3 separate regions of the Homo sapiens genome follow, and regions 2 and 3 are each linked to region 1. The links are contacts of gene promoters, found by promoter capture Hi-C in blood cells and fetal thymus (Javierre and others, 2016). All regions are on one chromosome and are shown on one strand. The core of a region is centred on a gene start or on the middle of the fragment in contact, and the rest is flanking DNA. Distances in the headings are between cores, read along the strand shown.

Evidence for each region. The method cuts DNA at HindIII sites, captures the fragments that hold promoters and counts their contacts. A CHiCAGO score of 5 or more calls a contact.
Region 2: a contact is called between a fragment that was not itself captured here and the fragment with the promoter of ARMC2 in region 1, in 3 of 17 cell types (M1 macrophages, M2 macrophages and M0 macrophages). The highest score is 7.1, in M1 macrophages.
Region 3: a contact is called between a fragment that was not itself captured here and the fragment with the promoter of ARMC2 in region 1, in 3 of 17 cell types (M1 macrophages, M0 macrophages and M2 macrophages). The highest score is 7.5, in M1 macrophages.

The regions. Positions count from the first base shown.
Region 1 is chr6:108,846,461-108,850,203 of GRCh38, forward strand. It overlaps ARMC2 (armadillo repeat containing 2), which reads left to right and starts at 1,962. Exons shown (of 18, transcript NM_032131.6): 1 at 1,962-2,086. RefSeq lists a silencer at 2,220-2,319. The HindIII fragment of the contact is 2,745 bases long and covers 1,737-3,743 here.
Region 2 is chr6:109,401,279-109,405,021 of GRCh38, forward strand. All of the region lies in intron 6 of PPIL6 (peptidylprolyl isomerase like 6), which reads right to left. Among named protein-coding and RNA genes, the nearest start is that of CD164, 21 kb to the left of the region's middle. The HindIII fragment of the contact is 688 bases long and covers 1,816-2,503 here.
Region 3 is chr6:109,384,092-109,387,834 of GRCh38, forward strand. No RefSeq gene overlaps it. Among named protein-coding and RNA genes, the nearest start is that of CD164, 3.5 kb to the left of the region's middle. The HindIII fragment of the contact is 2,035 bases long and covers 481-2,515 here.

The DNA.
Region 1 (3,743 bases), core at 712-3,211:
GGCTGTACCAGAGGTTTTTAGGTTGATGTTTCCACTGAGATGGTAATTATGTAATCATCAGTTCCAAGTGAGGTGAGGCAGAGTCTCCATAGGGCAGGTTACAAAGAAACCTAAAACCCCCTCAGCCTCTCACCCAGGCTGAGGCTAAAAATAAGGGGTCAGAGAGTGGAAAGGGAAGATGTGTGGGGAAACTTCTTTGGAGAAAGGAGTGTGGGGTGCTATGCCCTTCATCTCAAGCCAGCGAGAGGGGCTTCCCCAGGGGCCTGGGACTGCCAGAGACTGTAGTTAGGTGGCCTGGAGAACTGGAGCCTGACTCACTCCTGGGTAAGCTAAAGCTCCCTCCTATGGCAGCCTAGAAGGGGCTGCACCCAGACAAGCCTGAGCTCTCAGAATCACTAGGGTAACAGATGTGTAGGGTTTCCCTTGGGACCTATCTAAAGGGGCACTGAAAGGTGGAATAAACCCTGGGTTTTTAGGATTTCCAGAAGCCCCCAGGAGGGAGGTCCCCATCAGTGGGAGACTACAAAGGACCAGGAAAGACCTACATGAGCTGCTTTAACCATAAGCCAGCACAGCAAGCTTGAAGCTGCTCAACTCCAGGAAGAAATGCTCCATCTCCTTCCTTCTCCTCCTCCTCCTCACTGCCAGTTTGATCCAAGCTGGGCCTTAAACAACCTCTAGTGAATAGAGGGGCGGGTGGGGGTCGGGGACAAGCCTAAGCCTAGTGCACCCCTTCAGGGAAGGCCAGCTAGAGACCTTAAGCCTGGGGCTGGAATGGGGGAGGAAGACTTTTTGAAGTTTGATGCATTTGTTTATATCTTGCACCCAACATTATAGTTTTGAAATGAAGCTGTGGTTGAGATTTAGTTACAACAAGACTGTCAGTTATCTAAGAATGAGCAGAAAAATCCAGGGCTGTTTCGGGTCCTAAAATTATCCAATCAACGAATAGGTATTTATTTTCTGTTATGTTTGAAATCCTCTTGAGTATTTTGAAGAATATTTACATTCCTTTAGTTCAGGTTAGTATAATTTCCCACCTGGCACGATGCCTTACACATAGTATGTGCTCAAAAATATTTTCAATTTAATTATTCTTTACAAGATGCTTAGCACCAAGGGAAGTGGCATTTTCCCAGTGTTGATGACAAATAGCACTTCAGCTGGAAAATCTCCATATTTATAAAACGTGGTGCAAACCTGAATGGAGAGTGCTTATGATCTCACTTTTATTTAACACTGTACAGTGTTGCTAAATGGTCTAACAGGAGAAAAGGGAATTTAAACTAGAAACACATAAATGGAGTGCTTTTTGCCGTTCAACTGTGATGATGCACGAACAAAAAACGATTGGCCACGGGAGACCTAGACTGGAATCTCCTTCTCCTGCTCACTACACCTCAGGCCCCCAGTTCCTCTCCTGTGGATGGGGACGCCAGGCTGCCTACCTCAGACTCAGAAGGTACGATTACGTGCATACACTCTGCGAACTGAAGGGCTGTACAAATGCAAGGGCTTAATAACAGCCAACAGTTTAATATTCGTTGATTGCCACGTGCATAGCGCTTTACATCTATTTTCTCATGCAGTCTTCATAACAGCCCAAGACCTACCTAGGTACTATTATTAATATTTCCTGCCACTTGACATCGGAGGAAACAGAAGCTCAGCAAGTGGCTCCAGGTTATACAGAGCCCTAACCTGAGCCAGTAAATCCTTCTTACCCACAAGCATTAAGCTTCCGTCCTGCCTGCTGTTATTTAACAGAGGTGCTGGGATCCGGCAGGGGAGCAACAAATGTGGTTCGGCAAATTGCTAAACGAAAAGCGGACACCCGCCCACGACGCCTGCTCTGATCTGACCTCCCGGCCTACAGCCCTCTCCAGGCTCCTCCCACCCGCTCCGGCCGTCGCCACGCCTCGGAGCTTCTACGCATGCGTTGGCGGGACCCGCGCAGGCCCAGTGGCCGAGCGGCGTCGTGGGGTTACCCCGCCCGCGCCAGCGCTGCATCCCTGGCCGCTACCCGGGGAGAGCCGGAGGATGAATTGAACCTCGCAGCCGCTGCTATCTCCAGTGCTCATCACAGGTGCTTTGGGTCAGGTCGGAAGCCTCCTTCCCTGAGCCCTCGCCAAGCTCATTCCCCGGCCCGCCTCTCCCGCCCTGCAGCGGCCTGGCCCTGCGGTCTGGCTGCCGGGGCGGCGGCGGGAGGTAGTTTGTGTACGGTTACCATGGAGACGCTGGCTGCGGGGCGAAGTGGGAGGGTGGCCGGGCGGGGTGAGGATGCTGCTGCGCCCTGCCCTGGCCGGGACCGTGGAGGAGCGGGCACTGCCGTGGGTGGGGGAGCCGCTGTCCGAGCGGGAGGTGAGGTGTCCCCAGCGGCTCCCCAGGGACCCTTCCTGCCGTCGTCCGCCTGTGTGTCCTCGGATGGGGTAGAGAGACGATGAGTGCCCTGTGCATGCTGTCAGGGGTCCGGAGCGGTTGTCTTTTATTTATGTACTGTCGCACTTAGCCAAGTGCGTGGTGCTTAATAAGAAGCCCAGTAATATTTGTTGAATGAGAGTGGTAGACTAAGGGGCTTTGTCTAGGCAGGCGGTGACCGGGCCAGAGTCATACAGTTTATATCTGGGCACTTCCAGGCAACAGGGCCTCAATAAATAAAAACGTATGTGTAACAATATTTAACATACTTTAAAATCATGGAGTGTATACATAATGCCTTTTGTGATCCATTCCCACAAGTAACACAACAGATCTTACGTCCCACCCTGATTTATAATAATTATACTTTAATTTGGTTGAAAAGCAAGCACCATTTATTATATTTATCCTGGTTTCTTAATCTATGGGATTCTGGTTGTTGATGTTGATTTGGCATAGCTGATATTCAATAAAATGCTTAATAAAAATTATCTGTTTTCATAAAGGCAAGTACCACCACCCACCTTTTAAAAGGAGAAGTACGTAATGTAAATGACGAGTTGATGGGTGCAGCAAACCAACATGGCACATGTATACCTATGTATCAAACCTGTACATTGTGCACATGTACCCTAGAACTTAAAGTATAATAATAAAAAAAAACTTATGTATAGAAACACTGAACAAACGTCATTCTCTCTTTTGCAATTTCTTTTTTTAAATGTAGTTTTTCATTCGTGGAAATGATTTTGCTGTATCCTTTTATCATGTAGCACTTGGGCAATAATTGTTAACATCTTTAAGGGCCATATTTTAAAATGTTAACATTTTTAAAGCACTGTGCTAACGCACTTTACATGTATTATATCATTTAATTCTTCAAACAATCCTATGGGGCAATTATTATTACTATCCACCTTTTATAGATGAGGAAACTGATGCTTAGAGATATTAGAGGCATTGCCTAAGGTCACATGGCTGTGAATTGTCAGCATTTAAACCCTTAGTCCAGCATCTAAGCACTTAACCACTGCCTCTTTGGATGCTCATATTAATACAAAAATGATTCAGAGTTATGGAAGGGTCCTGAGTATTTGATTTGCAGGGAAGACTGTGAAGCTGGCCTGCTTTTCCCCTGTTGCAGACATCCTGGTAGTGCAGTGTTGCATTTAGCAAGAAGGCTCTGGTTCCAGTGGCTATTAGCAGCAACGATAAAGACAGGTCTTTATAATTAGTTATAAACTTCTATAAATTATGACTCTGAGCTTTCACCCAGACCAGTAGGAAATATCTTGTTGAAAAAAAAGTTCTTCACTTTCAAATTT
Region 2 (3,743 bases), core at 910-3,409, 560 kb after region 1:
ATGGTGATTATTAGGCTACCAATTTGAAGACGTACCATTCCCAGCTTTGCCTCCAAGTTCAAATACACAGAAGGAAATAATGGATGAGAAATTCAGTGAATTTTTTCATTCAATAACTTCATAAATTTCTGAGAATAACTGAGAAATATGAATATTAACTGTCTATAAGATTTTATTAAACTGCAACTGCTGTTATTAAGTTTCAAAACTAAGCAAACTAAGTGATTAAGCCATATCTGGGTAGTTACTTTCAGCCTGGTAAGTTGAAAACTGAATAAAGACCCCTGAAACCTTATGAAATGCTGATGAGGCATGTTTGTACAAATGAGTCTATATAATTACGCTGATGCTCCTTATTCATTTCAGTGAAATAAAGAAAAAAACTCATAATTTCACAGAAAATTGCATGAAATGGAAATCTGCCCACAGCAAAGACTCAGAGAGTTTTTCTTTTTTTTTTTTGTGAGATGGAGTCTCGCTCTGTTGCCCAGGCTGGAGTGCAGTGGCGCGGTCTTGGTTCACTGCAAGCTGCGCCTCGGGTTCATGCCATTCTCCTGCCTCAGCCTCCCTTAGTAGCTGGAACTACAAGCGCCCACCACCACGCCCGGCTAATTTTTTGTATTTTTAGTGGAAACAGGGTTTCACCGTGTTTGCTAGGATGGTCTCTATCTCGTGACCTCGTGATCTACCCGCCTCGGCCTCCCAAAGTGCTGGGATTACAGGCGTGAGCCACCGCGCCCGGCCCAGATTCAGAGAGTTTTAACAGAATGGTATTTGTCATTGCTTTTACATATTCTGATTTATTTTTCTTAAATTCTTTAAAAATTGGGAAAGAAAATTGATGAGTTGTAACATTTTTATAAAAAATTCTGTGATTGTGGGATAATTTTAAAGCAGTTAATCATAATACCTATCAAAGAAACTGCTACCTATGTGAAAACCCATGTATAAAACAGTGCAAAAAGTGCCTAGAGCAGCCAGGCACAGTGCCTCATGCCTGTAATCCCAGCACTTTGGGAGGCCAAGGTGGGTGGGTCGCTTGAGGCCAGGAGTTCGAGACCAGTCTGGCCAACATGGCAAAACCCCGTCTCCACTAAAAACACAAAAATTAGCTGGGTGTGGTGGTGCATGCCTGTAATCCCAGCCACTTAGGAGGCTTAGGCACAAGAATCGCTTGAACCCAGGAGGCGGAGGTTGCAGTGAACTGAGATTGCGCCAATGCACTCCAGCCTGGATGACAGAGAAAGACTCGGTCTCAAGAAAAAAAAAAAGTGCCTAGAGCCCTCTCATCTCCTGAACACATTTATTTAGGACAGCATGGAAATCCTTAGAGACAATTTGAGAACCATTGCTATAAAGGGACAGAATAAATTATATTTTTAAAAGGTGCAGGTAGTCCCTGACTTAGAAACTTAAAAATGTATGGACCTGAAAAAAAGTGTGAAAACTAAACGACTGTGTGTGGATTCTCTAAGTCCAGAATGTGTATGTGAATCTTAAGAACCCGAGGCTATGCTGCTTCCAGCCAGGCAGTAATGCCAGGGCCTACGGAAATCGCTCAGTGGTCATGCCGTAACTGGCCTACTTGGCATGATCTTGTATGCATCAAATAAAATGATGTGTAAGAAAGAACCGTTTTAAATATTAACTCTAACTAGCTTTGCAGACATAAAGTATTACAAGACAAGGGTAATTTACGTGTTATTTTGTTCTGCCGTGTCTCTCTGACTCACTCTTTAATCGTCTGCTCACCTCGGTATTTCTCGATCTTTCCAACCCCTCTGCTTTCCTTCTGCCTCTTTACACTTCTTTTCAAGCTTCCATAAAGCTCTAAAATTAAAGAGCTATAATTTAAATTTAAATTAAATTAAATTTTTTTAGAGAAGGCATCTTGCTAGTTGTTCAGACTAGTCTTGAACTCCTGGGCTCAAGGCCTCCTGCCTCAACCTCCTGAGTAGCTGGGACTACAGGTGTGTGCTACCACACCTGGCTAGCTCTAATTTTTTTTAAAAAAATTATTTACCAACATAAATTTCCCTGATTTTTTTTCTAATAGTAAATTTTTGGTACATTTCATTTAACACTTAAAACATTAAGTTGCTTTATACTTCCATGATATCAAAATGCACCCTTTGGCAGTAAACAGCACTGCTGAAGGGGGCTGAGCCTCTTTAGGTTTAAACAGAGTGAAAGCCCCCATAGAGGAATTTCTGTCCTCTTTGTTTGGTGAGGAGTGAGGCCACTGGTCAGTAAATAGGTTTGATTCAAGCCTATTTTCTCCTGAGTGCTTCTGCCAGGGATAAAGTATGTGTGGGAACAACCTACACAGAAACCAATAGCTGAAACTTGCCTAAGTAGAAAGAGCCTATTTATTTAGGACTTTAAAAGTTGTGATTCAAAACAAAGCAAAACAGACTTTCCCTAGGTTAAAAAAAAATTAATTCGTTTATAAAATGATAATCTAATTAAATGATACATTACTTATTGCATTATTTTTGTGTTAAGCTTAACAAAAGTGAGTTTTGTGGTTGCAGTTTTTCACAGCCCCAGTTTTAATTCTGCATCTCATGGAAGTAGGAACCCATGAGAGAAATGTGGAGGAAGGACTGGCTGGCTGCTGCATTCACATTCCCAGGCAGGTGAAGGGATGAGGGAGAAAGACCCATGCCTTAGCTGTTCTGAGGACTAGCTGTGCTCTCGCTTTCACAGTTACTCATCTTTCCTTCTGGAACATCTCTTCTTCCCACTTGATTGCTTCCTGGATTTTTTCTAATTTTGTCCTACCAGACCAACCGAATAATAAAAACTTCACTGAATGCACTGGGACTCCATGGGCACAGTGAGGACAGCAAAGATTCTATCTGGAGAGCAGATACTACAACAGTCTAAGGATGGGGTGAGGGATAATCAGCAGAGACTCAGGGGTGTCTAGGAGGTCAGGCAAGGAGATGAGTGAACAGATCAGTCTCCTACTGGACAGGAGGCCCACGTTCCATCTGAGGCTGTGCCTCCGAGCACAAAGCATTTGGGTGCTCTGATAATGGCTGTGGGGTGGAGAGGTACAGTGGATTCTCATCAGGGATTGGGGCCAGGAGAGTCCTTTCTCCATCTGCAACGTGTTGCTGCAGACCCAACTCAAAGCTTCTCTGTGCTGCCGCACCCAACTCTCCAGGCAGCTATTCTTTCTTTTCCCACAGCACTCAGTTCCCTCCTCTCTAACAGCAACTGGCACAGCACCTGTAGTTGATCTGTTTTAACATCTGTCTGCACAAAACTACTACAAGCCTTCCGAGTAGAAACTCGGTTATACCATCTTTGTTGCCACAGGCCCTAGCACCATGTGAGCACCTACTTTGGAGTTTAGTATTTTATGAATGACTAAAGGAATGGTGTCACTTGCATGTTTTCATTTGATAGAGCTGTCTGCAGGAATTCAGAAGGAAAGTAGCTATTACTTTTTCCCTTTCACTTTGGCCATCGATTCAATAAAGATATCTTTTCGGCCGGGTGCAGTGGCTCTCGTCTGTAACTTTGGGAGGCCGAGGTGGGCAGATCACGGGGTCAGGAGTTTGAGACCAGCCTGACCACCACAGTGAAACCCCGTCTCTACTAAAAATACAAAAAAATTAGCTGAGCATGGTGACACGCACCTGTAATCCCAGCTGCTCAGGAGGCTGAGGCAGGAGAATCACTTGAACCTGGGAGGTGGAGGTTGCAGTGAGCCGAGATCACGCCATTGCACT
Region 3 (3,743 bases), core at 248-2,747, 540 kb after region 1:
CTAAAAATACAAAAATTAGCCGGGCATGGTGGCACGTGCCTGTAATCCCAGCTACTAGCAGGGCTGAGGCAGGAGGATCGCTTGTATCCGGGAGGCGGAGGTTGCAGTGAGCCGAGATCACACCACTGCACTCCAGCTTGGGGAACAGAGCCAGACTCGTCTCAAAAAAAAAAAAAAAAAAAAAAATGTAAATAGAAGCTCTGTTCTCAGAGCTTGGTGTGTTATCTTCTTTCCACCCTAGGATAAACACACTCCTCTGTGCAGACCATTGTTTAACAATTTGTCACCTGGATGTTTAACTCTAGTCCTCAGATATTCCTCAGTCCTGATAAAGGGACATTTCACGCTCTTGTTTTAAGACTAGAAAACCATTGGTTTATTTTATTTTGCATGGCAACTGTAGAGGTAGATCAAGGGAGTTCCAAAGTCATTTTCACCATTTCAGAGAGACAGCTTTTTTTTTTTCAGTTCCTGACAGTAAGCTTCTGTTTATTGTTGTCATAGAGCAGGGTTTCTCAATCTTGGCGCTATCAAGATTTCAGGCTGACTCATTCTTGCTTGTCCTGTGCATTGTTGGATATTCGGCAGTATTCGTAGCCTCTACACACTAGATACCAGAAGCACCCCACCTCTCAGTTGTGACAACCAAAAATATCTCCCGATATTGTTAAATGTCTCCTGGGGGTAAAATCACAATTGAAAGGCACCCTCAGAGCGTTCTTCTGTGTGCAAGGTCAGCCATCACTCAGGTTATTTCCTCTTAGACACATTGCTTGCAATTAGATTGTCGATTGGTTGTTAGAGCGACCTTCTTAACCATTTATTTTCTTGAAAGCAGCAAGACAGAGTGCTTCTGCGCTTGTGAATCTTCTAGCAGTATAAGCTCCCTCTAAGTTTTTTAAACAGCAGATTTTTAAACAATGCTTCAGCCTTGTGTCAGTACCTTTCCCCAAATAAACAGATCAACACTCCAAACAGGACCCTGCCTTCTAGCTATAACTAACATCCAGTGGCCCCTTAATAATCAGAGGTTTGCCTCCACTACTTGATAGCAAGAAGTACAAACCCCCTTGTACTAGCTTATGTTAAAGGGAATCCATTCACTGTAAGAATATGACAGTAAATCTTATAGGCATTCAGGGGTGGGAAATCAAGTGTGTGAGGGCCAAGGGAGACTTGAACTTAAAAGGAGGAATCCCTAGCACGTGGAGCTGGTTTGCTAGGACTTCGTTTCAGGCTTCAACCCTACAGGACATTGCCAGATCTATAGACCCACAGCCAATCATCTCCATTGCCCAGTATTCCAGTTATATAGCTCTTGGAAGAGATAACTTGACTGAGTACCATGCCTTCCCAACCTGTCTGTTACCTACTCTCTGCTCTGACTCCATCCATGCAGTCTACACTAGAGCTCCCTGAACTTCCAGTTCTCCTAACTGGTCATGTTTTCTTTTGCATGTGGATCTTCATCCATGCTATTTCTTCTGCCTAGAACATTCTTATTCCCTTCTGGCATCTGACCAACTCCTACTTGTTTGAGGTCTCTCAGCTAAGCTGTCACTCCCATCTTAAGCTATCCTTAAAATATTCAACTACCCCTTTCTCCCCACTCCCAGACTACAAAAGGTGTTCCTGCTCTGTGCACCCTGGACTTGCCCATAACAAAGCATATACTGCATTATATAGCAGTTGTCTTTCTCACTAGATTAACTCAGAAATAGTGCTCACCAGTTTATTCCCTGCACTTAATTAAAAAAAAATGAATAAATGAACAAACTGGCTTATTTCAGTCAGTTGTCCACCCTTGCCAAAAATTAGCTGCATTAAAAAGCACAGGAGGAGCCCGGCGTAGTGGCAAGCACCTGTAATCACAGCTACTTGGGAGGTTGAGGCAGAAGAATCTATTGAACCCAGGAGGCAGAGGTTGCAGTGAGCCGAGATTGCATCACTGCCCTCCAGCCTGGGCAACAGAGTGAGACTCTGCCTCAAAAAAAAAAAAAATAAATAAATAAAATAAATAAAATAAAAGCGTAGGAGGGCAGCTGCTACAAATAACTCCCTGAACTCTTCAGCTGTGGGTCAGGGTAGATTCATCTAGAGGAGTATGGGTGGGAAACAAGGGCTGGCATCTGTAAGACAGTTTTAACAGCATATATTAAAGCTCATTTAGTAGTATTTGAATCTGTTTTGACAAAGAGAAGGATTGGAATAAATCAAATATTAGCTAAAACTGTATATTCAGAGTCTTAATATTGTGATTAAGATTAAGGGTAAAATTCTGGAGATATTGTCATTAGGAGGCTCTCCACTTTGACTGTGGATGTTTCTTTGAAAAGTGTGCCAGGGCGCCAGAGGGGAGCATTACACTTTAGAGCAGTTGTTCTTAACCCTGGCTGCACATTGGAACTACCTAGTGACATCAGTGGTGGTGGTGTGTGTTGAAAAATATTGATACTAGTGCCTGGGTACTGATTTAATTGGTCTGGAGTAATGTCTGAGCATCAGCAGTTTTAAAAGCTTCCCAGGTGTTTCTAATCTGCAGCTTAGGTGGAAAACCAGTGCTTTACTCTTGCTTTCCAGAGTGTGGTTCTCAAACCATTATCATTTATATCACCTAGAAATGCAGAACCTCAGGCCTCCCCCTCAGATCTCCTGAATCAGAACCTACATTTTAACAAGATTCCCAGAAGATATGTACATGTGTAAAGTATTAAAGTTGGAGAACAGCCGGATGCAGTGGCTCACGCCTGTAATTCCAGCACTTTGGGAGGCTGAGGCGGCAGATCACCTGAGGTCAGGAGTTCGAGACCAGCCTGGCCAACATGGCGAAACCCCATCTCTGCCAAAAATACAAAAATTAGCCAGGTGTGGTGGCGGGTGCCTGTAATCCCAGCTACTTGGGAGGCTGAGGCAGGAGAATTGCTTGAACCCAGGAGGTGGGGGTTGCAGTGAGCCAAGATCGTGCCATTGCACTCCAGCCTGGGCGACAGAGTGAGACTCCATCTCATAAAAAAAAAAAAAAAAAAAAAAAAAAAAAAAAGTTGGAGAACACTGCTTTACACTATGACTTGCACAGAACTATTCTATCCTGAACTGCTGCAATTTTTTTTCTTTTTTGAGAAAAAAATGAATAAATAAACTGGCTTATTTCAGTCAAACTGGCGCAATCTCGGCTCACTGCAACCTCCGCCTCCCCAGGCTCAAGTGATCCTCCCACCTCAGTTTCCTGAATAGCCGGGTGCGCCACCACACCTGGCTAATTTTTTGTATTTTTGCTTGAGACGGAGTTTCACCATGTTGCTCAGGCTGGTCTAGAACTCCTGAGCTCAAGCAATCTTCCCCCCTTGGCCTCCCAAAGTGCTGGGATTACAAGCATGAGCCACCATGCCAGGCCTGCAATTCTTAACAGTGATTCATTTACAAAATTACATCAAGATATACTGTTTTTGCTTCTTTCTTTACAAACATATGTAAGGTTAGCATACAAACAGCACAAACCTCCTGGATGTGCAGGAGTCAGGGAGCCCAGCCCAGGTTCCCTTAAGGCTGGCACCCGAGATGCATGATTTTTATTTGTATTCTGCTTCAAACCCTGGGTCTGCTAGAGCTCTTTGCATTACGTCTCTTGGTCCTTCAGGAAATGAAACCTTTTCCTGACTTGTTCCTTAGGAATAACCTCCAAGTTCAAGCTAAACTACACCTCAGGCGGCTTGCTGATATCTTGGATTAGCTATGGCTTCCCC